Regions from separate parts of the Homo sapiens genome. Here regions 2, 3, 4, 5, 6 and 7 are each linked to region 1. Evidence: promoter capture Hi-C in 16 types of primary human blood cells and fetal thymus (Javierre and others, 2016). All regions are on one chromosome and are shown on one strand. Each heading gives the region's core, a stretch centred on a gene start or on the middle of the fragment in contact. The rest is flanking DNA. Distances are from core to core; before and after follow the strand shown. Region 1 holds the start of SETBP1-DT (SETBP1 divergent transcript). Region 2 overlaps SLC14A2-AS1 (SLC14A2 antisense RNA 1). Region 3 has its middle 150 kb from the start of SLC14A2-AS1. Region 4 has its middle 230 kb from the start of SLC14A2-AS1. Region 5 has its middle 440 kb from the start of LINC01478. Region 6 has its middle 410 kb from the start of LINC01478. Region 7 has its middle 260 kb from the start of MIR4319.

Region 1 (3,398 bases), core at 226-2,725:
CGGAACTTCTCAGACAGTATTTCGGTCAAAGAGATAATGGTTTGGAAGACAAAAACAATAAATCGATACCGAAGGGTTCCCTTTCCGGAGTGATTTCCCACTGGAAACCACCGAACGGGGAAGCCTGCCGTTCATTCCCAAGCCCACGGCTCCTCTAGAAACGCACACAATGCGTGCTTTCAAAAAGGCATTCGTCTGCTTTTAAGGGAATTCCTATCTTTTCAGAGTCCCAAAACCAGAGAGCACAAGAAAGAGACTCAAATCCATTGATTAAGATTTTTAAGAAAAAGACTAACACACAGGCACAACACAAGCACACACCAACCTTCGCCGGCTGGACCACTTCTTGCCTGTTCTTCTTTCTATTAACGACACGTTAGATTCTGATACATTCCCCCCCCAAAAAAATCCAACTAGGTTACAATGTAGCTCTCTAGCTCCACTTAACCTGCAAGTTACAAAGAGAGAAAAAAAAAATCCTGCCTTCCCACCCCTTTCCTTACCCCCTCCCCCTCCCGAGTCCACTCCACCAACGCCAAACCCGCCAGCCCCGCCAGCCGGCTGCAGGACCGAGGGAGGGTGCAAAAGGCGGGGGGCGGAGGGGGGGTAGATCAGATTAGGCGAAACTCAATAAGCTCCCAGCCCTCCAGCCCAAAGCTTCCACCATCGCCGCCACCAACGAGCCACTCCAATTGAGCCAGCATCGCCGCCCACCCGCCGGCCCGCCGGAATCGCGCCCATCTCCTGCAACCTCGCCCGGACCGGCATCCCGCCCCCTCGGCCCGGTCTCCCCCTTCCCGCCGGGTGCAAAGTCAAAGACCCAGCAAGGCGACGTGAACTTTTGCATGCAGGGCACACACGTCGCCCCCGGTTCCGGGAGTGCGGGGGCCCGCGGCGCGGAGGGAGGCTGGGCGCCCGGGCTCCCGGGCCAAGGTCGCCGCGCGTGCTCACCCATGTCCCGGCGGCTCCGGCTCCGCTGGCCCCGGCGCTCGCTCAGATCCCGGCTCCCGTCGCTCGCCCGAGCCCCCAAAGGTGCTGCTGCGGCAACTCCATGGCGATGAGCATCTGTCAAACGGCGAGCCGCGAGCTGGCCGCCCTAGCTCGGGGGGCGCCGGGGCCCCCGGGCGCGCGGAGGCGGCGGCGAGCGGCGGGCGCCCCGGCCGGCCCCGCGCTTCCCGCCCGACTCTGCCGCCTCCGCCGCGCCACCGATTTATGGAGAGAGATATCAAGGGGGAAAATGGCGTCTCCGGAGCCCGAGGAGTCCTGGAGTAATCACATTCACACACACACGCCCGCACGCACACACACTCGCACACACTGGCACACAGGCGCGCGGCGAGCCCTGCTAATTTTAGCAGGAGCCAAAAAAAATTTTATATATATATATATATATATATATATATATATATCCCCGTCTCTCCGATCAATGCTTTTTCTTTTTTTGCTTTTTTTTTTTTTTTTTTTTTTTTTTTTGCTTTTCTTCAAAGGATGGGTTGGAGCGTTAAAAAATGTTGGTGGGTTTGGGCTCGCAGGAGGCGGCGCGCGGAGGGCGAGGGCGCTTTTGCTGAGCTGTGCAGTTCGGTCCGCTGAGCCCGGCGGCCCTGCCCGCCCGCTCGTCCGCCCGCGGTCGCTAGTGTTGCCGCCGCCGCCGCCGCCGCCGCCGCTGCTGCTCCATGGCCGCGCCCGCCCCGCGCCCCCGCCGCGTCCCGTCGCCGCCCGCCCGCGTCCCCGGTGAGCGCTGGAGTGGGGTCGGGCCCGTGTGCCTGCCTCCCGCGCCCTCTCCGAATCCCGGACTCCTAGTGAAAGGAAGGGGGAGGGCGCGGGCGCGGAAGGGAGGTGGATCGGAGCGGCAGCGCGGCCCAGCCGAACGGGTACCGACCGTCACCCCGCGATCTTCCTCGCAGGGGGCGCCGGCGCCCAAGCTGCTCGCCCGGAGGGCCCAGAGCCGCTTCCCAGACCAGAGCCGGGGGAGGCGCAGCCAGTAGCGAGCCCTGAGCGACCTCTCTCCCCACTCGCCCCCCTGCCCCAGTGAATTTCTGTCAGTTGAAGGGAGCGGGGCTCTTGCCCGGGGAAAAGGAAAACAGTTCGTGGCCTGGGATCTGGGACCCCTTGCCGCCCCCAGCGCCCCTCCCGCTCCCCGGCGCCCTTGCGGCCCAGTGGCTCCTGCGCGCCGGAGTCCGCCGCGAAGACTGAGCGGCCGCGGGGATCGCCGCGGGCTCCGCGCGTATTCCTGGGCTCAACACTGCCACTATCTGACACAACAGGAGCAGTGTCGGGGGGGTACTGCGCGCCCAGACGTGAGCTGTGATAGGCTCTCGAAACTGGGCGCATTTTTTTTTTAACCTGGTAATTATATTTCACTTTCAGGGTTTTTTTAAATTATTATTATTATTTTATTGTTGTTGTTAAGCGACTTGTATGCATTCAGATCTCATGTGCATTTTCTCGTTATTCAAGAGAATTGGACACTTGATGAAGGGAAGGACACGGAGAGATGACAAACGCAGACTGGCATGCAGTTGTTTTCAGGGTGGGAAGAACAAAGTGGAATGTCTTCAGTTCTTACAAAATATGGTGGCATTTGTAATCTCTGAGTTTTTGTATTTGGCCTACAAAGGGGGTCTTTTCAGGGAAACACGAATGGAACCCTTCAGAGACATGTCTACATTGTAAAACAATATAGGATAGATACGGATTCGGGAAGGTCTGCAAATGGTTCCGCTCAAAGAACTTGGGGTAAAGTTGACCGAGGACTCGGATTCTGAGAGGACTCCTATCACGTTCTTCATGAGAGTTTTAGGCTATTTGGACTGAGGAATGATTTGGAGGTACGTCGGGGGCATTCCCTCACTGAGGCCATCAGTGGCTGCCTCCCTGCATTGGCTGCTGGTTTGAGTTCCTTCACAGAACTTCTTCGTCAAGTTTTTCATAGGAACGCTGCAGTGAAGTGGAGTGAAAGAGACTGGGGATTGAAGGGTGAACCCCTTCCAGCCCCAATCCCATCCCGATTCCTGTCTGGATGCAGATTCAGTCTGACTCAGAACGGATAGTTCACCCTTTTACTGATCCAAGTGCTCTGTCCTCTTTTTTTCAGAGGAATGTTCTGACTGGCTACAAACTTTTCTTCTGTCACTGCAGGACCTCCCGTGGAGCAATTTTCGATAGGTCTTCTACTATGCTTTTTTACCGCGTCATTGTTATTGCTGAGAAAATAATGCTTAGTTAGGAAAAAAAATAGCAGAGCATATGAGCTGATGATAGAAGTAGAGATCAAGGCACAGAATACAATATCAAAACAACTATTCTCTGTAATCAAATGACCTTTCTCATTTGCTTGTACACCCAGATTTCTGAAATCCTACACCAAAGTCCACAGAGAACTAAGATAGCATGTGGCC
Region 2 (3,398 bases), core at 434-2,933, 710 kb before region 1:
AGGGCCTATGGCAAAGCCTTTTCAGCCTCTCAAATTCTCCCCCAAATACCAACGAGATTTTAACTTTATATTTTTAGGGCAGTTTTAGGTTCACTTTTCATTTTATTTATTTGGAGCAGTTTTAGGTTTCATTCTAGCAAAATTGAGAGGAAGGAGGAAGGTACAGAGATATCCCAATGGGACTTTTACGTGCTACAGTTACATTCTCGAAGATTAAAGTTTGGATATCCATCAAAATGCAAAGATCTTTTTTCAGGGTCAACGTTTTTACTCCTTACAGTGGGTGTGGGATTTAATTCACAGATATTTTGGAGTGGGGGTGAGTGTGGGACAAGAGGAGAGAAATAGGGTAGAGAGACCCATCAAGTTCATGTCAGACTTTAACTATTTTCTTATTTTGCCTAAGCCTATATTGCCTCTGGCACCTGTAAGCAAATATTCTCAAATATAAAGCACCTTTTAGCTCTTTAGTTGAACAACTCTTTAAGAACCTTTGGTAGAAAATTCCTAAAATGTCACACTTTTTAACCTATTAACTTAATCCAAGAAAGAAAGAAGGCTGGTTGAAGTTGATTTGGGATCCTGAAGTAACTATAAGAATAATGCTTTTTATACTGCAAGAATGGTCAGCTCTTGATTATGAGAAAATAGTATGACTTGATGAATAATGAGACAATCCTTTTGGAAAAGCCTCATTTGACCACTGGATTGACCATTACTTTTGGAGAGAGAGAGCTATGTTACTTGGCTCCAAAAATGATGTAGATGGATTCTGTAGTCCATATTTATGAGATAGAGAAATTATAGAGCATCAAACCAATAAGCAAATTTAGTCAGGAAAACAAGTCGCAAACTTGTCTTGCAATTAGCACATGTTCCATCCCATCACTCAAGCTGTGAGCTTCCATAGCCAGCCCAATAGCTGGTCAGAAAGGTGCTTTTTATCACCAGCACATAATCTCAAAATGGTCAGTTTTCTCTACATACCAGGGCTTGCACAGGTGTCATACATTTTATGAAAATTTACATCAAAATGATTTGAAATCAAAAGGTTTTGCCTCTCAAAGGGTTAATGCAAATTCTCATCCATGCCAGATTACTGTCTCTATTTTTATGCACATATTTATATATGAATATTTAACTTCTATTTTCCCTTATTTATTCAATATTTTAAAATCTTCACTAGATGCTAGCCCATCAATGTGCCTTCTTTGAAGAAGCCAATCCACATTTGGAAGCATAATTCCTTTGCTTTATCATCCTATCACTCACAAATGCGTATTTGTGTGCACCTGTGGCCTTCAGCGACCTCCTGTCTTCATAGGTCACATTGAGGAGCTTGTGAAGAGTTTGTACCTCTTCTTCATGCAAGTGCCAATATGCCCTTCTGTCTAGTTGGTATCTGGGATGAGAAACATGGAGTGGAATTCCTATTCTTAAGTGTTCTCTTGGGGAATATAAGGGCGGGTGGCAGAGAGAAAGGATTAGAGATTCAGCATCTCAATATATAAAAATCTTCAACCCCAGGTATTCGCAATCTTGGGGCACTGAAGAGAACAGACGAAAAATAGCCCTAGATACCAGGAAGGGTATCTAGGAATGGAAGATGCTATCCAACCAGCCTATGCCCTGTCTTTTATTATAAGAGCTCTTGCTGTCAAGAGCTGAGGAGTGAAATTGTTTTCCAGCCACAGTAAAGCAAGACTTCATTTCAGGTGCCTGGTTTATTTAAGATATGAGCAGCCGGGCGCGGTGGCTCATGCCTGTAATCCCAGCACTTTGGGAGGCCAAGGCAGGTGGATCACGAGGTCAGGAGATCGAGACTAACCTGGCTAACATGGTGAGACCCCATCTCTACTAAAAATACAAAAAATTAGCCGGGCGTGTTGGCAGGCACCTGTAGGGAGGCTGAGGCAGGAGAATGGCGTGAACCCAGGAGGCGGAGCTTGCAGTGAGCCGAGATCTCGCCACTGCACTCCAGCCTGGGCACACAGTGAGACTCCGTCTCAAAAAAAAAAAAAAAAAAAAAAAAAAAAAAGATATGAGCAAGGTGAGCTTAGGGCAATCCAGGACTTCATCCTCCTTTGAGCCTTCCCAAGCTGTATACAGCCTTTAAATAATGACCTCCTTTGCACATAACCTGACCTCAAAAATGACCTCTTTGCACATAACCTGACCTCATGAGAGATTCCCCCACTTTTCAGTCTGCCCTATGGACAAAGCCTATACCGGCTTTCATGCATTTTTGACAAATAGCCTCAATTTTCTTCCAGCTGTTTCATGTGTAAATGCTGTTTAGTGTGTGAATCAGTTTCCTGAAGGCAAATAATCCTTCTCAGTTGATTGTCATAATAGCTCATACAACTTTCTACATTCGAAGAGACATGATGTGGACATGAGAGAAATAAAGTTCGACCCTGTCCCCAAAGCCATCCCTTCTGACTTGCCCTGAGGATACCTGAAATTTCTACTAGCAGTCATTAAGAAATTTTTGATCTGGATATGTATTTCAAAATATGATATTGATTGAGAGAGATAACATAATTGTGAACTAATATATCCTATCAGTTATTCACCAAAGATTTATAGTGTGCATTTACTGCCTATGAAGCACACTGCTAGGGAGACTTAGAATTAGAGACTGCCCTTGCTTTCCAGGGTGTGGTAACCATCAGTCATTCTCATAAATATCTGTTTCTCCTTACTTGTGGGAGTGACATGGTGATGTGGGAGGGTTACATTTTCTGCCTCCTTGTTTGGGGGGCAGGGCATAGAATTAATTCTGGCTGAGGAGTTGTGGCAAGCTATGGGTTTAATACTTTGAAATACGGGGTTGCTTGACGCTGTAGCAGAACCTTGCCTATTTTGACTGATATAAGTAGCATACCCTTTTAAGACAGAAAAAAGAGATGGCCATACATGGTTGTAACATACAGAAGTTGTAAGGGAGATACAGCAAAATTCTTATGGAGAGAGATTTCCACAATGAGTAGAATATCTGTGAGGGCCCAATGGAAGTAGTAGCAACTGGGCTGAGCCCAGTTTAGAGAAAAAGAGTAACTCAGAAAAGAATACTCCAGAAACAGTTTAAGCCAAGGTCTAGAGGGAGATAAAGTTAATATTCACAGAGTGTCATAGTGAGTAATTCAGACTGAATCACAATTATTCTAATAATAACAAGCTGCCATTTACTGCCTGTGCTCACCATGTGCCTGGTTATGTGCTAAGTGGTTTACACAAATCATCAACATCATCTTCACAACAGCCCTGGGAGGTAGATACTATCAGCATCTCAATTCTACAGTTGAGGAAACTGAGTCTTTTGGAGGTTAATCAACAGTTTGAGGTCCCACAGCCAGTTGGCACTACTGCAGAGGCTCAAATTCCGGCCTGGCCCC
Region 3 (3,398 bases), core at 480-2,979, 670 kb before region 1:
CTCTTACCTGTTCTTACCACTTCTTTTATTTTCCTTTGGTGTCACTTGTAAACATTTATTTGTGACAGTATTTGGCTAATGTCTGTCTCTCTCGATGGGTTGTAAGCTCTACAGGGGCAAGGATCAAATCTGCCCTTACACATCATTCTATCTGTGGAATCTAGCCCGAGTGCCTAGGGCCTCAGTAAGTCATTTTGAAAGATAGAATAGGAAGAATGGGAAGACAGAAGAGAAAATAAATAAATAAAGGTATCAAATTTTAAAGTTTAGTCTACTTATGTGCCTCTTCCTCCTCTTTGGGGGATAAATGACTATGTCATGAACAATTCGTCTCTACCTAAAAGAGGAAAACTTGCCCTCTGGATGGAGAATCATAAGAAAGAATGGGTATGGGGTGGGGTACAGGGGTACAGGTTGTGTGTGTGTCATTCCCTTTCCAGAAGCCCCTTCTCCATGGTCTCTCTGAAAATTTACACAGGACTCAACTCAGTGTTTGCCTTTTCTTTGAAGTATTTCCTGGTGACTGAAGACCTCATGAATGTGCACCTTCTACAGATTCCTAAAACACATCAAGAACCTGAGGTTTGAAGGCGCCACAGTCCCATGCCCTGTCCAGTGCAGCAAGCCCCCACCACAGCCCTGTCCACGACTTCCTCATATACATCACCTGCTGTTGTCAGATGACTCTTTTTCATGGACTGAGACGTTTTCTTTACATTGACCTAATATCTGTCTCCCTGATGGTCCTATGACTTGAGCCCATTTGTGTTCCCAAAGCTCTCCTGTTTATCTACTCCTTTCCCATTACAGTCCTTCTGATATTTGAATCCAAGTGTTCCACCTGCTCCCTTTCTTGCCTCTCCAGCCCCATACTAAAACTCTGTGATGTGATTTGTAGTCCTCTGTTTCATGTCTGTCTCATCTCTCCATGTAGGTTGTAAGCTCTCAGAGGGAAACATTTCCCTTCTGCCTCTTTACTATACTTTTCAAACCCAGTAATTGGCTGGAAATATAGTATACTGTAGGTACTGAGCGTACATAAGTAGGCTGGGCATGGTGGCTCACGCCTGTAATACCAGCATTTTTGGGAGGCTCAGGTGGGAGGATCACTTGAGTCCAGGAGTTCAAGACCAGCCTGGGCAACATAGTGAGACCTTGTCTTTAAAAAAATGAACAAAATTAGCTGGGTGTGGTGGTACATGCCTGTAGTCCCAGCTACTTGGGGGGCTCAGGCAGGAGGGTTGCTTGAGCCTAGAAGGTCAAGGCTGTAGTGAGCCAGGATCACACCACTGAACACCAGTTGGAGCAACAGAAAGAGAGACTCTGTTTCAAAACAAACAAACAAAAAACGGTGCATAAGTGGAATAGAAAAGGGCTTGCATGGGAAAAAAATGAGGCTATTTGGGTTGGAGACCCAGGAAGGATAGGATTTTCTTCTTCTGCCATGGTGATAAAGTTAAACTGATCAGGGTCAAGATTTTTCTACCACCTCATATAAGGTCCCTTTCCTTCAATAATGAAATACAAATAGGTGATTATGTTTCCAGCAATTGGTACCAGAATAAAAGACTAAAGAACACCATCATCAGAAAGCACAGGAACTGAGAAGACAAAGACAATTACACACATAGAGAAAATGATCAAGAAGAAAGAAGAAAGGGAGAGACGGTGTGGAGTTAGGAACGTCAGGCCAGGAGTGCTGAGATTTCTCTGGTATCCTCTGCCCCAGTCCCAGAGGATGCATTAGGTTTAATGCAGAAAATGACTGACAAATTACTAGGTCACTGAGTGTGAAATTTATATTTTTTGCTTCTTGCCTTCTCTCATCCTATAATTGTATCGACCTAAACAGTAAAAATATTGCTATTGTCTTCTTTATTATGGTGCTTCTATAAGCGGAACTGCTGTGTCTCAGGGAGCTTTTTTTTTTTTCCTGGATAAATCTTTTCCTTGTGATAAATAAATCCCTAATAGGGTCTTATTTAAATAACACTGTGCTGGGAGTGAGGCAGAAATCAAAAGATGAACCATTAAGCCTAGTAATAGGAAAGTGGTGTGCGTCAGCGGCATTACCGCATCCCGAGAAGCCACATCAATTAGGTACCTAATGTGTGACCCGTCACATAAACTAGTCCAGCCACACACCCCTCATGCTCTCACTATTGATTGTTGCCCAGATATTTGGAATTAAACTGAGCCTCCTAATTATCCAGCATGCAGAGCTGTGCTGGTCCTGCCATCAGGAGACTGAACTGCGGCCTCTTCCCAAGGAATTTCCCTCACTGTGATGAACGTGCTGTCCCTGTGACCTTGAGCTATGAGTGTGTTTGTTTTATAATCAACTGTATCTGAGCCATGGGGGTGTTCTCAGGAATCAGAGATATCAAAAATGGTGACTGTTTAGTGTATGTTAGTAATGCATTGTGATTCTGAGGTTTTATCCAGAATGGTTTTTAACGACATTTATTCACTTTGGTGAAAACACTCTAAATCTGTTTCTCGCACGTTTCTCTGGCTTTCTGGCTACCTTCAGTCATAGGAAATGCTCCCTGCCCTGAACTCTTTTAGCAAGCTGTCAGTCTCACTCACTGGACCATGCTCAAGGGTCTGTGTTTTGTCTTTGTTGACCCAAACAGTGAGTGCAGTAATTATTTTGCTTTTGTCTTAAATCCTCTTTGGTGCCAAGCCTGGGGTTGGAGAAATAGTAGAAGCTCAATAAAAAGTTGATAATATTGATTATTTTGACTACTTCTGATTTCTTATGCTTCTTGAAGTAGTCAATGTTTCCTGCCATTGATGCATTTAGACATTGCCTTTTGCCAAATTACCTAAGCATGTAAAAACCTTGGAGATGGCTTTCAGGTTCCCTGGCATTTTCATTTAGCTAAGTTATGCCTAGTTAGTTCTCTTAATCTTCATCTACGTTCCACTTCTTGCCTTTTAATTTTTTATAATCTGGAGATGACAACACCTTGGATGATTCCAGGGAAACATTTGGGGAAATGCCCAGGAGAGGAGAGAGCTGTAACCAAGATGGGTTATGTTTGTGCAATCTGCCCATTCCTGCTGCATTCACTGCGCAACCTGTGAGAATTGAATTGCCCAGTGCAACATGGGGACCACTGTTGCTGTCTGTCTTGCTTGACCTTTGCTGTGTTCTGGAATGGATGTGCTGGTCTACTGCCTAGGAAGCCCATTGACATATATTCCATCTCTAGGAGAAGGTTGGAATGTGGCCAGCCAATCAAAACACAGGGCAGGGGAAAAGGGGATTGCTAGCAAACTTATTAAAACAACAGTATCTATTTCTATCACTGAAACATGATCAATGGGCCCCAGCATCCCACTTTTGGTATACTGCAACATTCTCATGTGGCTACAAAGGAAAATAGATCTGC
Region 4 (3,398 bases), core at 642-3,141, 590 kb before region 1:
TTTTGCTATTTAAGCAAGTAGCAGACTAAAATTTTCTCATTCAGCCAGATGTTTAGCCTCGTTAACAAGAACAACACACATCTTGCATGAATTGACCCAGGAAAAGTCAACATGGGTGAGAGAACCCAGCCAAATCACAGCTGATTCATGTACTTTGGCCTCCCCTACCCCCACACACTAACAGAAGATCTCAGAGTTGTGGGTGTCATTGTTGGTCAAGTTAGGTTGTGCTATCACCAATACAAGGGATTCCTGGTAAGCCTGTTATCACATAGATGGAATCAAAGATATGAGGAAGCAGTGTGCATTGTATTGCATTTTTTCTTGCACCTAATTCTCATTAGTTCTGTCTTAGAATTAAAACTCAAATTAAATAAAATGCATTAAATGTTAAATATAACACATTTACAGCATAATGGAATCTTAGTATTCAGTTGATCTAAATTTTCTTCACCCTTCAATACTGTTCTATAGATGCTCACACAGAGTCCAGAGAAGAAAAAATGCCTTGCAGATGTCACAGTTAAGCTTTAATTTCCAAACGAGAAGAGAATTTTGTGTCACCCAAAGTACAATCTGTGCTAACACATTGGATTCAGCTTGTTTTTCAAGCTGTTGGCCTACATCTTGCCTCCTAGCTCCTGGTTAATGCTTTTTTAAAAAGACTATTGGACTTCATTTGCACACCCAATTACTCTGCTCACCTGTTTGTGCTTCCTCCTTCTCCTCTTGGCCACTCCTTTCCACAAATACACACACATTATCAGAAAAAAGTCAAGTCTAGAGTGTAGAAGTATTTGATGGTTGTATTGCACACTACCTGTTCCCTCTTCATCTGTAGGACAACGCTTTTCTCCTGGGAAATTCTTACCTACCCATTTAAAGGCTCTATGGTTTGAACGTTATCTTGATTTTACCTCCAGAGAAGATAACTCAAGCCTAACCAATCATAGCATCCCATTTTCCTGTCTACAGTGAATGGTTCAGGGATGAGAATGTGACCCAATCAGAGCCAACAAGGCAGTTACAAGACTTCTGGGACTATTTTGAGAAAATTATTCTCTCTTTACTGCTGAGCTTACAGCTATGAGGATGTAATCTTGGAACTGTTGGATGGTCATTTTACTTCTTCAATGGATAAAACCACTGAAAATAAAACCAGTACATAGCAAAGCGAGAGTCGAGTAATAGAGCAAAAACCCCGATCTGATGATATCGGGACACCTCGATCCATCTGAGCTTGAAACTCTTAGACATTTCAGATAGATGAGTGAAAAAAAATCATGCTTTAGTTTAAGTCAGTCAAGTCCATTATTCCGATATTTGCAATTGCACGATTCCTGATGGATATAGCAGTGTAGGGTTTACTTAATGACTAGGCTCCCTATAAGGGATTCAGTTGCTGGCTTAGGTAGCTTTTATTTTAAAAAAATTTTTGTGTGTGCACAGTAGGTGCATATATTTGTGGGGTACATGAGATATTTTGATACAGGCATGCAATGTGAAATAAGCACAACAAGGAGAATGGGGTATCCATCCCCTCAAGCATTTATCCTTTGATTTACAAACAACCCAATTATATTCTTTAAGTTACTTTAAAATATACAACTAAGTTATTATTGACTAAAGTCACCCTATTGTGCTTCCAAATAGTAGGTCTTATTCATTCATTCTATTTTTTGTACCCATTAACCATCCTCATCTACCCCTCAACCTCCCATTACCCTTCCCAGCCTCTGGTAATCATCATTTTACTTTCTATGTCCACGAAACTAGAAGGGTACTACTACTAAAAATCAATTGATTTGAATTTTAGATCCCACAAATAAGTGAGAACATGTGATGTTTCTCTTTCTGTGTCTGGCTTATTTCACTTAACATAGTAAAATGTTGTTGCAACATTTGCAACAACATGGATGGAATATATTGATCTCCAGTTCCATCCATGTTGATGTACCATATTTTCTTTATCCATTCATCTGTTGATGGACACTTAGGTTGCTTTCAAATCTTGGCTATTGTAAACAGTGCTGCAACAAACAGGAGTACAGACATCTCTTCAATATGATGATTTCCTTTCTTTTGGATATATACCCAGCAGTGGGATTGCTGGATGATATGGTAGCTGAATTTTCAGTTTTTTGAGGAACCTCCAAACTATTCTTCATAGTGGTTGTACTAATTTACATTCCCACCAAGAGTGTAAAAGGATTCCCTTTTCTCCACATCCTTATCAGCATATGGCTATTCAGTTTTCCCAGCACCACTTATTGAAAAGACTCTCTTTTCCCTAGTGTATGTTTTTGGTATCCTTGTCAAAGATGAGTTTACTATACATGTATGGATTTGTTTCTGGGTTCTCTATTCTGTTCCATTAGTTTATGTGCCTATTTTTATGCCAGTACCATGCTGTTCTGGATACTATAGCTCTGTAGTATAATTTGAAGTCAGGCAATGTGGTTCCTCCAGTTTTGTTCTTTTTGCTTAAGACAGCTTTGGCTATTCTGGGTCTTTTGCGGTTCGATATAAATTTTAGGATTTTTTTTCTATTTCTGTGAAGAATGTCATTGATATTTTGATAGGGATTGCATTGAATCTGTAGATTGCTTTGGGTAGTAAGGACATTTTAACAATATTGATTCTTCCAATCCATGAACATAGAATATTTCTCCATTTTTTGGTGTTCTTTTCAATTTCTTTCATCAGTGTTTTATAGTTTTCATTATAGAATTCTTTCACTTCTTTTTAATTTCTAGGTATTCAATTTGTGGCTATTGTAAAAGGGATTACTTTTTGATTTGTGTTTCAGATTGTTCACTGTAGGTAGCATTTTATCATTGCATGTTTTGCTGATACTTTTAAAGTTGCTTTCCAGCTGCTATCTTCTTTTGCATAATGTCATGAATTACAGTTAATCATCAGTCTGTATTTCCATTCAAGTCATAAATTTCCTGATTTTTCTACAATCTGTGCTAACATGATCTTTTAGCTCCTAGAATCACCTCCCAAGGGAAAAGGAAAAAATAACCATTGCTAGAAAGAACTAAAACTGGACTGGCCCAGCCACTAAGATGTCTACACAACAGAGGGCATTTCCTTTGGGGAAGAGCTGACAAGCATTACTTGCTCAGATAAGAATTACTTTTTCCTTTGTTCTTCTAACTTGGTTAGGCTCTGCAAATGTCACTTGATTTTCAAGTGGATGCATCACCAATGTTCTTTATCTGAAAGTGGGATCCACCATCTAAGCTTCAGGGGAAGCAAGTGTGTGGGAAGCAGAGAAGGGAAGTTGCTGCAGAATTGTTTTACCTTACACACATAAAGGAAGGCATTTTCCTGCTATATTTACTGATATCCTGCTGAAAGCTAAATTTGTATCTGCTTAAAATCAACAAGGC
Region 5 (3,398 bases), core at 368-2,867, 580 kb after region 1:
AATATATATGTACCCAGCAGTCAGATTCATAAACCAAGTTCTTCTTGGCTTATGAAAAGACCTAGACAGCAACACAATAATAGAGGCTTTCAAACCCCACTGACAGTATGAAACGGATCATTGAGGCAGAAAACTAGCAAATTCTGGACCTAAACTTAACACTTAACCAGTTGGATATAATGGACATCCACAGAATCTCCACCCAACAACCAAAGAATATACATTCTTTTCATCTATACATAAAACATATTCTAAGATCAACCACATGTTTGCTCATAAAGCAAGTCTAAATAAATTAAAAAAATAGAAGTCATACAAAGCATAATCTCAGACCATAGTACAATAAAAATATAAATTGATATCAAGAAAATGTTTCAAAACTATACACATACATAGAAATTAAACAACTTACTTCTGAATAACTCATGGGTGAACACTGTAAGGCAGAAATCAAACAATTCTTTGAAATTAAGGAAAATATAGACACAACTTGCCAAAATCTCTGGGATGCAGCTAAAGCAGCGTGAAGAGGAAAGTTTCTATCACTAAATGCCTTCATCAATCAGTTAGAAAGATCTCAAAATAACAATCTAATTTTGCACGTAAAGGAACTAGAAAAAAAAAGAAGCCAACCCAAAGCTAGCAGAAGAAAATAAGTAACTAAATTTAGAGAAGAACTGAATGAAATTGAGATGCAAAAATCAGTATAAAGAGTCATTGAAACTAAGAGTTCTCCATTTGGAAAAATAAACAAGATTGATAGACCACTAGTTAGATTAACAAAGAAAAAAAAAGAAGATCCAAATAAGTAAAGTCAGAAATTACAAAGATGACATTACATCTGATCCCACAGAAATATGAAAGAGCCTCAGAGAATACAATGAACAACTCTATGCACACAGATTAGAAAATCTGGAGGAAATGTGTCATTTCCTGGAAATACAACCTTGCAACATTGCATCAGGAAGACATTGAAATCTCAAATAGACCAATATTGAGCTCAGAAGTTAAATTAATAATAAATTATCTACCAACCCAAAAAATCCTGGACCAGATGGATTCATAGGTGAGTTTTGTCAGACATACAAAGCAGAAGTCATACAAATCCTACTGAAACTTTTCCAAGAAATTAAGGAAGGAGGCTTCTCCCTAACTCATTCTGTGAAGCCAGTATCAGCCTGATACTAAAATCTGGCAGATACACATGAAAAAAGAAAACTTCAGGCAAATATCCCTAATGAACATAGATGCCAAAATGCTCAACAAAATACTAACAACTGATCTAGGAGCACATCAAAAGTTAATACAACATGATCAAGTAGGCTTTATTGATAGAATGCAAGGCTGGTTCAACATACACAAATCAATAAATGTGATTCACCACAAAAACATAATAAAAACAAAAAACATGATTATATCAAAAGATGCAGAAAAAGCTTTTAATAAAATTCCATAACGCTTCATATGAAAAACACTTAATGAACTAGGCATCAAAGGGAAATACCTCAACATAATAAAAGCCATATATGACAAATCTACAGACAACATCATACTGAATGGGCAAAAGCTGAAACCAATCCCCTTGAGAAATGGAAAAAGACAAGGATGACTACTGTCACCACTTTCAGTCAGCATAGTGCTGGAAGTCCTAATCAGAGCAAGTGTAACGCTAAAGTTTCTTGCCTTAGCCACGCCAAAGATTTGGTGTGGCGGTAGCCCACAGTGAGAGAGAGACACGGATCAGACCGAGAGAAAAAAGGCTGTAGACTTTATTAAGCAGTGACAGTACAAAGCTTCCACAGCGTGGAAGGGGTCCCGAGCGGGTAGCCAGTGTTAGATTTTTTGATCACCTTTTAAACTCTTTAAGGAGGGAACTACGTGCAGCGGGAAGATGTTACCAGAGCAAGAAACAAAGACAATTAACATGTCTCAGATCTTGAGGAAAACCGGAATTGTAACTTAAGTTTTATCTACTTTATGACCTTGCAGCGGCATGGCAAAGGAGACAGGATCTCACAGGATTTCACAAATTGTGTTTACAAGGAATTGGAATTGGGAGCATAGACAAGGTATGCTGGTCACAGAAAAACAGGCTTTTAACATTTCTTTTAGTTTCAGGGGAGGGGGAAGGGAGAGAGGGAGAGAGGACACAGGGAAGCTTACAACAAAATTTTCGCTGTTTATAGCTTTCTTGGGGAAGAAAACACAGGCACAAATTCTGATGTTAGGAATATTTTAAGCATGTATCTTCAATATTATTCATCCAGGACCAAAGTAAGTCCTGATGCAGGAAATGACTGAGTTTCACAGCTTTCTGAGCCCCTACTCGACCCAGGAAGCCCAGCTGACACCTCCCCTTACAAGCAGGCAAGAGAGAGAAATAAACGGCATTCAGATAGCTAAAGAGTCAAAATATCTCTCTTCACTGACAATATGATTCTATACCTAGAAAATCCTAAAGACTTCAGTAAAAGGCACCTAGAACTGATAAATGATTGTAGTAGAGTTTAAGGATACAAAATGAATGTATAAAAGTCAGTGGCATTTCTTTTTTTTTTTTTTGAGACAGAGTTTCGCTCTTGTTGCCCAGGCTGGAGAGCAATGGCGTGATCTCGGCTCACTGCAACTTCTGCCTTCTGAGTTCAAGGATTCTCCTACCTCAGCCTCCTGAGTAGCTGGGATTACAGGCATGCACCACCACGCCCGGCTAATTTTGTATTTTTAGTAGAGATGAGGTTTCTCCATGTTGGTCAGGCTGGTCTTGAACTCCTGACCTCAGGTGATCCACCCACCTGGGCCTCCCAAAGTGCAGGGATTACAGGTGTGAGCCACCACACCTGGCCAGGTCAGTGGCATTTCTATACACTAATAATGTCCAGGCTGAGAGTCAAATCAAGAACACAATCTGATTTACAACAGCAAAAAGAAAATGAAATACCTAGGAATCCAGTTAGTAAGTAAGGGAAAGATCTGTACAAGAAGAACCCTAAAACACTGCTGAAAGAAATCAGAGATGACACAAATAAATAGAAGAACATTTTATGCTCATGGATTGGAAGAATCAGTATCATTAAAATGGCCATACTGCCCAAAGCAATTTATAGATTCATTGCTATTCCTGTCAAACCACCAAAATCATTTTTTACAGAATTAGAAAATAAAAACTATTCTGAAATTCATATGGAGCCAAAAATGAGCCCAAATAGCCAGATTAATTTTAAGCAAAAAAAAAAAAAAAAAAAAAAAAAAACAAAGCTGGAGGCATCACACTACCTGACTTCAAACTCTACTATAAGGCTGTGGTGACCAAAATAGCCTGGTACTGGTACAAAAACAGACACATAGGCCAATGGAACAGAATAGAAAACTTAGAAATAAAGCTGCACACTTAACCACCT
Region 6 (3,398 bases), core at 520-3,019, 560 kb after region 1:
AGTTAGAGATTTATGAAAGTTCTCTTTGATTACAGACAGGTGTTCAAATCCAAGTAGACAGAGAAAAGGAAGAGAGTCAAACTGTAAAGGCTAGAGCTATCCAAAGTCTGGGCTTTGGATGTCCAGCACTGCAGCACTGGGAGGGAAAATGATGAATTCTAGAGAAATGCGACTACAGTGTTGTTTTGTAAGGTTTCTGTGGCTTAATGTGCCAATTGGGGTGAGTGTTGGGAGGAAATAGGAAGTACGAGGTAGGGTTAGGATATTGAGAAAATGTTAAGGCACAGACAGGAAATCTTAACCATCAATTTACACTTCAAAATTTCCACTGTGATTTAAATAAAGGCCATGTAAAGTTCCTATCTATATTTGTGAACAGTGTTTTTCTCTCCTTTCAAAGATGCCAAAAGAGAGAGTCTATACTACATAGTTTACTTAGAAAATCTTCCACTATTCCTTCTGCCATCATTATGATATAACCATCTCTATGGATATATCTGATTGCATTTCATTTTCTTGTGATATGGCAGCATATAGTAGCATATTTTTTTTCAATAGTGTTGGATCGATAGACTTAGCAAGCCAAAATTACTTCTGCATTGTGATCAAGACTATGGAGGGAATATCCAAGCAATGTTGTGTGTGTGTAAATGTATGTATGTATCTACATATGTATTCTCTGACTCCAGTATTGCTACAGTCTCATTCTCTGGCATTGACCCAAAGGAGGTTGTGGCCAAAGTCAACCAAAGGTTCCCCACAAATTTACCCACATATCCTTCGCTATATTTTCTAACCCTTGTACCCCTACCTGAATCAACTAATTTCCTTCTAGGCATGTGTCTTCCTCTACCGGTGCAATTTACAAGGATTTGAAGACTCACTCTTTTCCAAAAATATTTAGGGATTATAGTCCTAGAGACTAACATTCGTCTTGACTTTTATTTCTCCTTCATTCTTCTTTAGCCACAAAACATGTTTCTAAATATCGCTCAAATTTATCCACTTTTATCAATTTCCTTGCTATCCTCATGGAATAAATGATCATTCTCTCTCAAGTCTTAGCACTTCTTACTGGATCCTAATCGTCACTCTCTAGTCTGTTACTCACATGGTAATTAAGAATGATATTTTAAAGGAAATATAAGAAATTATGATTATGTCATTGCCTTGTTTAAAGTTCTTCGATGCCTTTTATCACTGTAAGAATAAATATTTAGAACACATGCAGAATATGTCTGCTGTCCACTTTAGAGAGTCAGTTCTAGCTCTTTATTCCTTGCTTTATTGTTTCTGCCACATTGACATTCTTTCAATTCTTGGAGTATGTCTATGTTTTTCTGTATCTTAGAGTCTGTGCAATGCTATTTCCTTTGAGTGTCACACTCCTTATTTTGGTATACATCTTTCACAGCTCATTTCCAACTCTAATTCTTCAAGCAAATATTCCCATGCTTGGTTCTTGACTCTATATTATATACTTTTATTGCACCTATATTACTTTTTATTACAGAGCAACCGTAAAATAATTAGGTAATGATTTCTGGTTGTAACATTTGTTACTTCCCAGAATGTAAATACCTTTAGGCAGATTATATTTGTCCTTTTAATGATGTATTCCCAAGGAATGGTGCATTGGATTATATTTTGAGAACATTCAATATATATATTTCAAATAAATAAATGGATGGTGGGGCTAGGATAAAATTCAAAAAATCCTTAGAAAGACTAAATTTACAGGATTAGGGGTTACACGTTCTGTAACGAAGACAAAGGTATCTCTTCCTTTGTCTGGGACCTCTCTCTCTCACTCCCTTTCTATTCTTGGGTGCTGTAGTACATCTGAAACAGTTGATGATTAAATAACCAAGAGTTTACAGAAATAAAGAAAAAAATTATGATTTCAGAATTATAAATAAGTCCTTGCTTTAGTTCAGCTATTTAGAAGTAGGTGTTCCCCAGATCTCATACATTAAAAATCGAGCTAACCTCTATGGCAAAACTGCCCTTCATTAGTCTATTTAAACATTAGAGACAGGAACATTTCATTAGTACTTGGAAGATGGCTAAAGTTCAGGCTATTTTTTTTTTCTTTTTTTTTTTTTTTAAAGTGACAGCAAGTTAATTAAGAAAGTAAAGAAATAAAAGAATGGCTACTCCATAAACAGAGCAGCCTACTTACCTACTATTATAAGATGATGTTTTATGGAATAGCTTCATTTAATATATATTCCACTGAGGCACAGAGAGTAGGGGAAACTAGTTTTACAGTCCAAATCTAGCAAGCATATTTGTATTCATTGCAGTGGGCATTGAAGCCTATTTAGGATGGGGTTATTACACTGGGAGAGATAAGGCAAAAGGAGAGCAAAAACATCCTTCCACTGCCTCAGGCAGTGGACATAGGAGAAGAATGATAAACACATGCATCTCTCGTTAGAAAGTTGGATGCTGGAGACATTTTTTTCCTCAATGCTCTTTATCAGTATGTATTTCCTTGAAAACCATAAAATATTAGGTTAATTTTGCTGCTAAAAACGAGCTATTTGTTTAATAATTTATTTGTCCTTTCTTTTCAGAGGGCACTTGGCTTTTATTCACAGATGATGAATACGTTGTCTTTTTTCATTTTTTGCATACCCATTATGTTCTCAAAATGAAGGGTCTAAACAATTCTCTGGGAGAAAATTATCCACAATACTTTTATGAGTTAATTTATGATATTGAAATAAAACAAGATTTCAAAACCAAGTCCAACATATATAAAAGTAAGAGAAATAGTACCTTACATTTTGATTACTGGGAGAGCTAAAAGTTTTTGTAGCTGGGCATGGTGATGTGCACCTGTAGTTCTAGCTAGTTGGGAGGCTGAGACAGGAGGATTGCTGGAACCCAAATGTTCAAGGACTCTCTGGACAACATAATGAGACCCATTTCAAAAAAAACTTTTTAAGTTTTTCTGTGTACATACAGCATGTTGCCATGATAATTATTAGGGTGTTTATAATTGAAACAAAGCATTATTAACCAAGAAAGCAACCCCCCCAACCCAGGCCCAGTGGCAGGTCCCATGAATCATGCCCTGTGAATGACTACTTAAGCCACCATTGCTGATCACTCAAGCAGGATGGCATCATGTTCTTACAGGCAACAAAACAAGAAAGGTTGATGAGCAGCACTGGGCACAGGTTAGGAACAGAAGGGGAAAGAAGAATCAGCACTAGCAGGAGATGGGGAACAATAATTCCCAATATCTTTTAGACAAATCACCAAAAATCTATAGGCCTCAATTACTCCAAAACATAGGCTTAAAATTTATGTGTATCTAATCTAGCTATTGACTCCTTAAGACTATGTCAGATATGTGTCTTAAGTAAATAATTAGAAATGAAAAAATT
Region 7 (3,398 bases), core at 285-2,784, 550 kb before region 1:
AGGAATTTAATGAGGATGTTAAGCACTTGTCCAATCGCAACTTAACTTTTTGTTCAGAGCCACAGAGATTACTTTTTCTGCCTAAACATTTTCGTGATACGCAGGAGGGAGCCCGGGCAAGACCATGAAATAGGGGACTTTTTTGTTTGGTTTCTTCCAGTGCTTCTAGGTGTCCAATACTCCTGTGATACACTTTCACCCATATCAAGAGAAAAAGACAACACATTCATCAGGGTCAAAGAGTCACATAATTTGTATAACCAGAGCTGATTTTGGGGAGGGGATAGTTTATCTTGAACAAGTAACATTTCAACAATACATTTTTGTTAGTTATGTGAGCACAGATCAGGAGAATGCTGACCTTAAGAGGTCAACTTGTGAAATCTCCTAAACAACACAGGAATCCCTTCTTCAGTGTTGCAGGAAGATGTTCACTCAGGTTCTGTGTGAGCCTCTCCAGCAACAGGAACTCACTACCACTCCGATATGTGGATTCCATTGTTGAACCATTCACAATGTTAGAAAGTTGTTACCTAGAGTGAAACTAAAGGAATCTAACACTTCTCTCAGGTTCAAAGACAACTGCAAGAGGGGGAAATTGTTTCACCCAAAAGGAATGAGATTCAAGTGGTAAAAATCTCCTACAGACAATTAAGTTAGAGAAAAATTGGGGTGCAAGAAGTCAACCTATACCTTCTCGTCTCATGGCCCACCTGAACCAACACAGCACCGGTAGCCAGTTACACACAGGTTGGAACTTGATTCTAAGTTTTTAGTCACATTACCCTTTTGTGGTTTCACGAATGTGCCTCAAAATGGGCCTATAAGCTGCTTAATAGCATCTCCCATGACATCCAGCCTTGAGCTGGCTACACAGGAGGAGCTCTTAAAGCCCTTGTGACTTAACCAATTAAGCTGAACTTATGACAGATTTATTAAAAGTAACAATCCAAAATGTATTTATATACAGTCTCTTGAGTTGGTTCACAAACAGATTGTCTATGGTGACAGCCTCCTGTACCCTGGTTTGACAAATGAATCTTCAAAGTTGGAACCAAGTTGGTTAATTCTTCCATATGTCTAAATGATCACTAGAATGCCAGAGAATTAGAACAATGGGTATAGACAAGTTACTATTTTCACCTAGTTGATTCTTCCTGATATGGCTTGTCTCTGTGTCCCCACTGAAATCCCATGTTGAATTGTAATTCCCAATGTTGGGGGCGGGACCTGGTGGGAGGAGACTGGATCATGGGGATGGACTTCCTCTTCATTGTTCTCATGATAGTGAGTTCTCATAAGATCTGACTGGCTGAAAGTGTGTGGCACTTCTCCCTTCACTCTCTCTCTCCTGATCTGCCACATAAGATGTGCTTGCTTCCCCTTTACCTTCCACCATAATTGTAAGTTTCCTGATGCCTCACAGCCATGCTTCCTGTACAGCCTGTGGAACTCTGAGTCAATTAAACCTCTCTTCTCATAAATGGCCCAGTCTCGGGTAGTTCTTGCTAGCAGTGTGAGAATAAACAATACACTTCCCTTTCTGCTCCCATAGCTTCAACTCTGGTTCATTCACTCATCATTTTGTTTTTTTTTTTTACTATTGCAATGGACTCTTAGTTGAAATCCTTTAGCTTGGTTCTCAAGGCATCATATGAAAGTCTTCCAGCTTCATCAGTTGCTTCTTCCCAGAGCAGCCTGTGTTTCTTCTTTGTTAACACTTTTCACACACATACTTATTTATTTGAAGAATTGCTTTCATCACCACACTATAAACACTCCATAAGGACAGCAGGGGAACTCATAACACTTACAGATGCTCAGTAACTACTCACTGAATGAACTACCAAATTCCTCATACGCACCCCATAGCATAGCATAACTGAAGTGTGTGTCATTCTCCAAACATGCCCCTCACTTGCCAGCACTATTATTGATCATGCCATTTGCATATGGCCATATTAAAGGACTATGTAATGGATGGCATGAAGACAATGAATTGGGCATAATTTGAGTGTTTAATGATGAGAAAGGAATGGTCAGAGTATCCTGACTGGAGACAACGAAGGGTTTTTAGTGTCACAAGCTGTGAGAAAGCACTAGCTTAATCATCAAGATACCATAATGGGAGGGGTGTAGTGGCTCACACCTGTAATCACAGTACTTCCCATTTGGGAGGCCAAGGCAGGAAGATCGCTTGAGGCCAGGGGTTCAAGACCTGCCTGGACTACACAGCAAGAGCTTGTCTCTACAAAAAAATAAAAAATTAGCCAGGCATGGTGATGCATGCTAGTAGTCTCAGGTACTCAGGAGGCTGAGGTAAGAGGATAGCTTGAGCCCAGGAGGTCAAGGCTGCAGTAAGCTATGATTTCATCACCACTCTCTAGCCTGGGTGATACAACAAGACTCCACCTCAAAAAAATAAATAAAAATAAAAAATAAAAAAAGTATCAAGATGTTAATATTTCAGCTTTTGCCTCTGGGTTGTCCACTGTGACTTTGGACAAGTTACTTAACTTCTCTGTGCGTCAATTTCTTACCCTGTAAAGCATGGATAGTAATGCCCTTCTATTCCTTGACATTTCCAGGAGGCTGGTAGGCTAATGTAAAACACCCTAGCCTTTGGCGCTCTTGCCAATACACTTTTGTTGTTGTTGTTCTTGTTAAAGATTTAACATAATTGAAACCTGGGCTCAAAAAATATTTTTCCTGCCTGAGGTATTAACTCAAAATAGCATAATTATTCATTCCAATAATTTGTACAAATAATACTAAGAAACTACGTTCCAGAAGACAACAACCAGCTCTTTGGAACTCTCCTGGAGTCTTCCTTTCCTGACACTCTGAGAACTGGATTCAGTTCAACATTTCTTAAAAGCATTTTTATGCCAACCCTTACAAGGAATACTTAAGGGGAAAAAGAAGATCTGCCTTCAAGGACCTTGTGGTAGGCAGAATAATGGCCCCCAAAGACATTCACATTTGAATCTCCAGAACCTATTAATATGTTGCATTACATGGATAAAGAAACCTGCAGATGTGATTAAATTAAGGGCCTTGAGTTGGGGGGATTTTTTTGGATTAACTTGTCTGGGTGGCACAATCTGATCCCACAGCTCCTTCACAGAAATCTTTCCTGGCTGTGACCAGAGAGGGAGGTATGACAATGGAAGAATAGACAGATGCAATGTCACTGTCCTTGAAAATGAAAGATAGGGCCCACAGGCCGAGAAATGCAGGTGGTCTAGAACCTGGAAAAAGCAAGATAATGGATTCTCCCCTAGAAGCCCCCCAAAACACTGCCGTTACCTTGATATTAGCCCATGCAAGGCCCATGTTCGACTTCTGCCTTACAGGACTTTACAATAATACATTTGGGGTGTTTAAGCCACCAAGCT

Evidence for each region. Contacts are between HindIII fragments. The CHiCAGO score rates a contact against its expected background, and 5 or more counts as called.
Region 2: a fragment that was not itself captured here is called in contact with the fragment with the promoter of SETBP1-DT in region 1 in 5 of 17 cell types (megakaryocytes, M0 macrophages, M1 macrophages and 2 more); the score reaches 9.6 in megakaryocytes.
Region 3: a fragment that was not itself captured here is called in contact with the fragment with the promoter of SETBP1-DT in region 1 in 1 of 17 cell types (total B cells); the score reaches 5.1 in total B cells.
Region 4: a fragment that was not itself captured here is called in contact with the fragment with the promoter of SETBP1-DT in region 1 in 1 of 17 cell types (total B cells); the score reaches 5.2 in total B cells.
Region 5: a fragment that was not itself captured here is called in contact with the fragment with the promoter of SETBP1-DT in region 1 in 1 of 17 cell types (M2 macrophages); the score reaches 5.3 in M2 macrophages.
Region 6: a contact is called between a fragment that was not itself captured here and the fragment with the promoter of SETBP1-DT in region 1, in 1 of 17 cell types (M2 macrophages). The highest score is 6.6, in M2 macrophages.
Region 7: a fragment that was not itself captured here is called in contact with the fragment with the promoter of SETBP1-DT in region 1 in 3 of 17 cell types (naive B cells, total B cells and monocytes); the score reaches 6.4 in naive B cells.

What each region holds. Positions count from the first base shown.
Region 1 is chr18:44,677,949-44,681,346 of GRCh38, reverse strand. It overlaps SETBP1-DT (SETBP1 divergent transcript), which reads left to right and starts at 1,475. Exons shown (of 2, transcript NR_187430.2): 1 at 1,475-1,731; 2 at 2,458-3,398. SETBP1 (SET binding protein 1) reads right to left here and starts at 459. Exons shown (of 6, transcript NM_015559.3): 1 at 326-459. RefSeq lists silencers at 585-634, 775-1,024, 1,695-2,334. The HindIII fragment of the contact is 7,071 bases long and covers 660-3,398 here.
Region 2 is chr18:45,386,705-45,390,102 of GRCh38, reverse strand. All of the region lies in intron 8 of SLC14A2-AS1 (SLC14A2 antisense RNA 1), which reads left to right. It also overlaps a transcript of SLC14A2 not described here. Among named protein-coding and RNA genes, the nearest start is that of SLC14A2-AS1, 120 kb to the left of the region's middle. The HindIII fragment of the contact is 3,962 bases long and covers 1-3,398 here.
Region 3 is chr18:45,349,303-45,352,700 of GRCh38, reverse strand. It overlaps a transcript of SLC14A2 not described here. Among named protein-coding and RNA genes, the nearest start is that of SLC14A2-AS1, 150 kb to the left of the region's middle. The HindIII fragment of the contact is 3,527 bases long and covers 1-3,398 here.
Region 4 is chr18:45,270,938-45,274,335 of GRCh38, reverse strand. It overlaps a transcript of SLC14A2 not described here. Among named protein-coding and RNA genes, the nearest start is that of SLC14A2-AS1, 230 kb to the left of the region's middle. The HindIII fragment of the contact is 2,721 bases long and covers 531-3,251 here.
Region 5 is chr18:44,093,733-44,097,130 of GRCh38, reverse strand. No RefSeq gene overlaps it. Among named protein-coding and RNA genes, the nearest start is that of LINC01478, 440 kb to the left of the region's middle. The HindIII fragment of the contact is 357 bases long and covers 1,439-1,795 here.
Region 6 is chr18:44,117,737-44,121,134 of GRCh38, reverse strand. No RefSeq gene overlaps it. Among named protein-coding and RNA genes, the nearest start is that of LINC01478, 410 kb to the left of the region's middle. The HindIII fragment of the contact is 5,756 bases long and covers 1-3,398 here.
Region 7 is chr18:45,230,238-45,233,635 of GRCh38, reverse strand. It overlaps a transcript of SLC14A2 not described here. Among named protein-coding and RNA genes, the nearest start is that of MIR4319, 260 kb to the right of the region's middle. The HindIII fragment of the contact is 3,728 bases long and covers 1-3,398 here.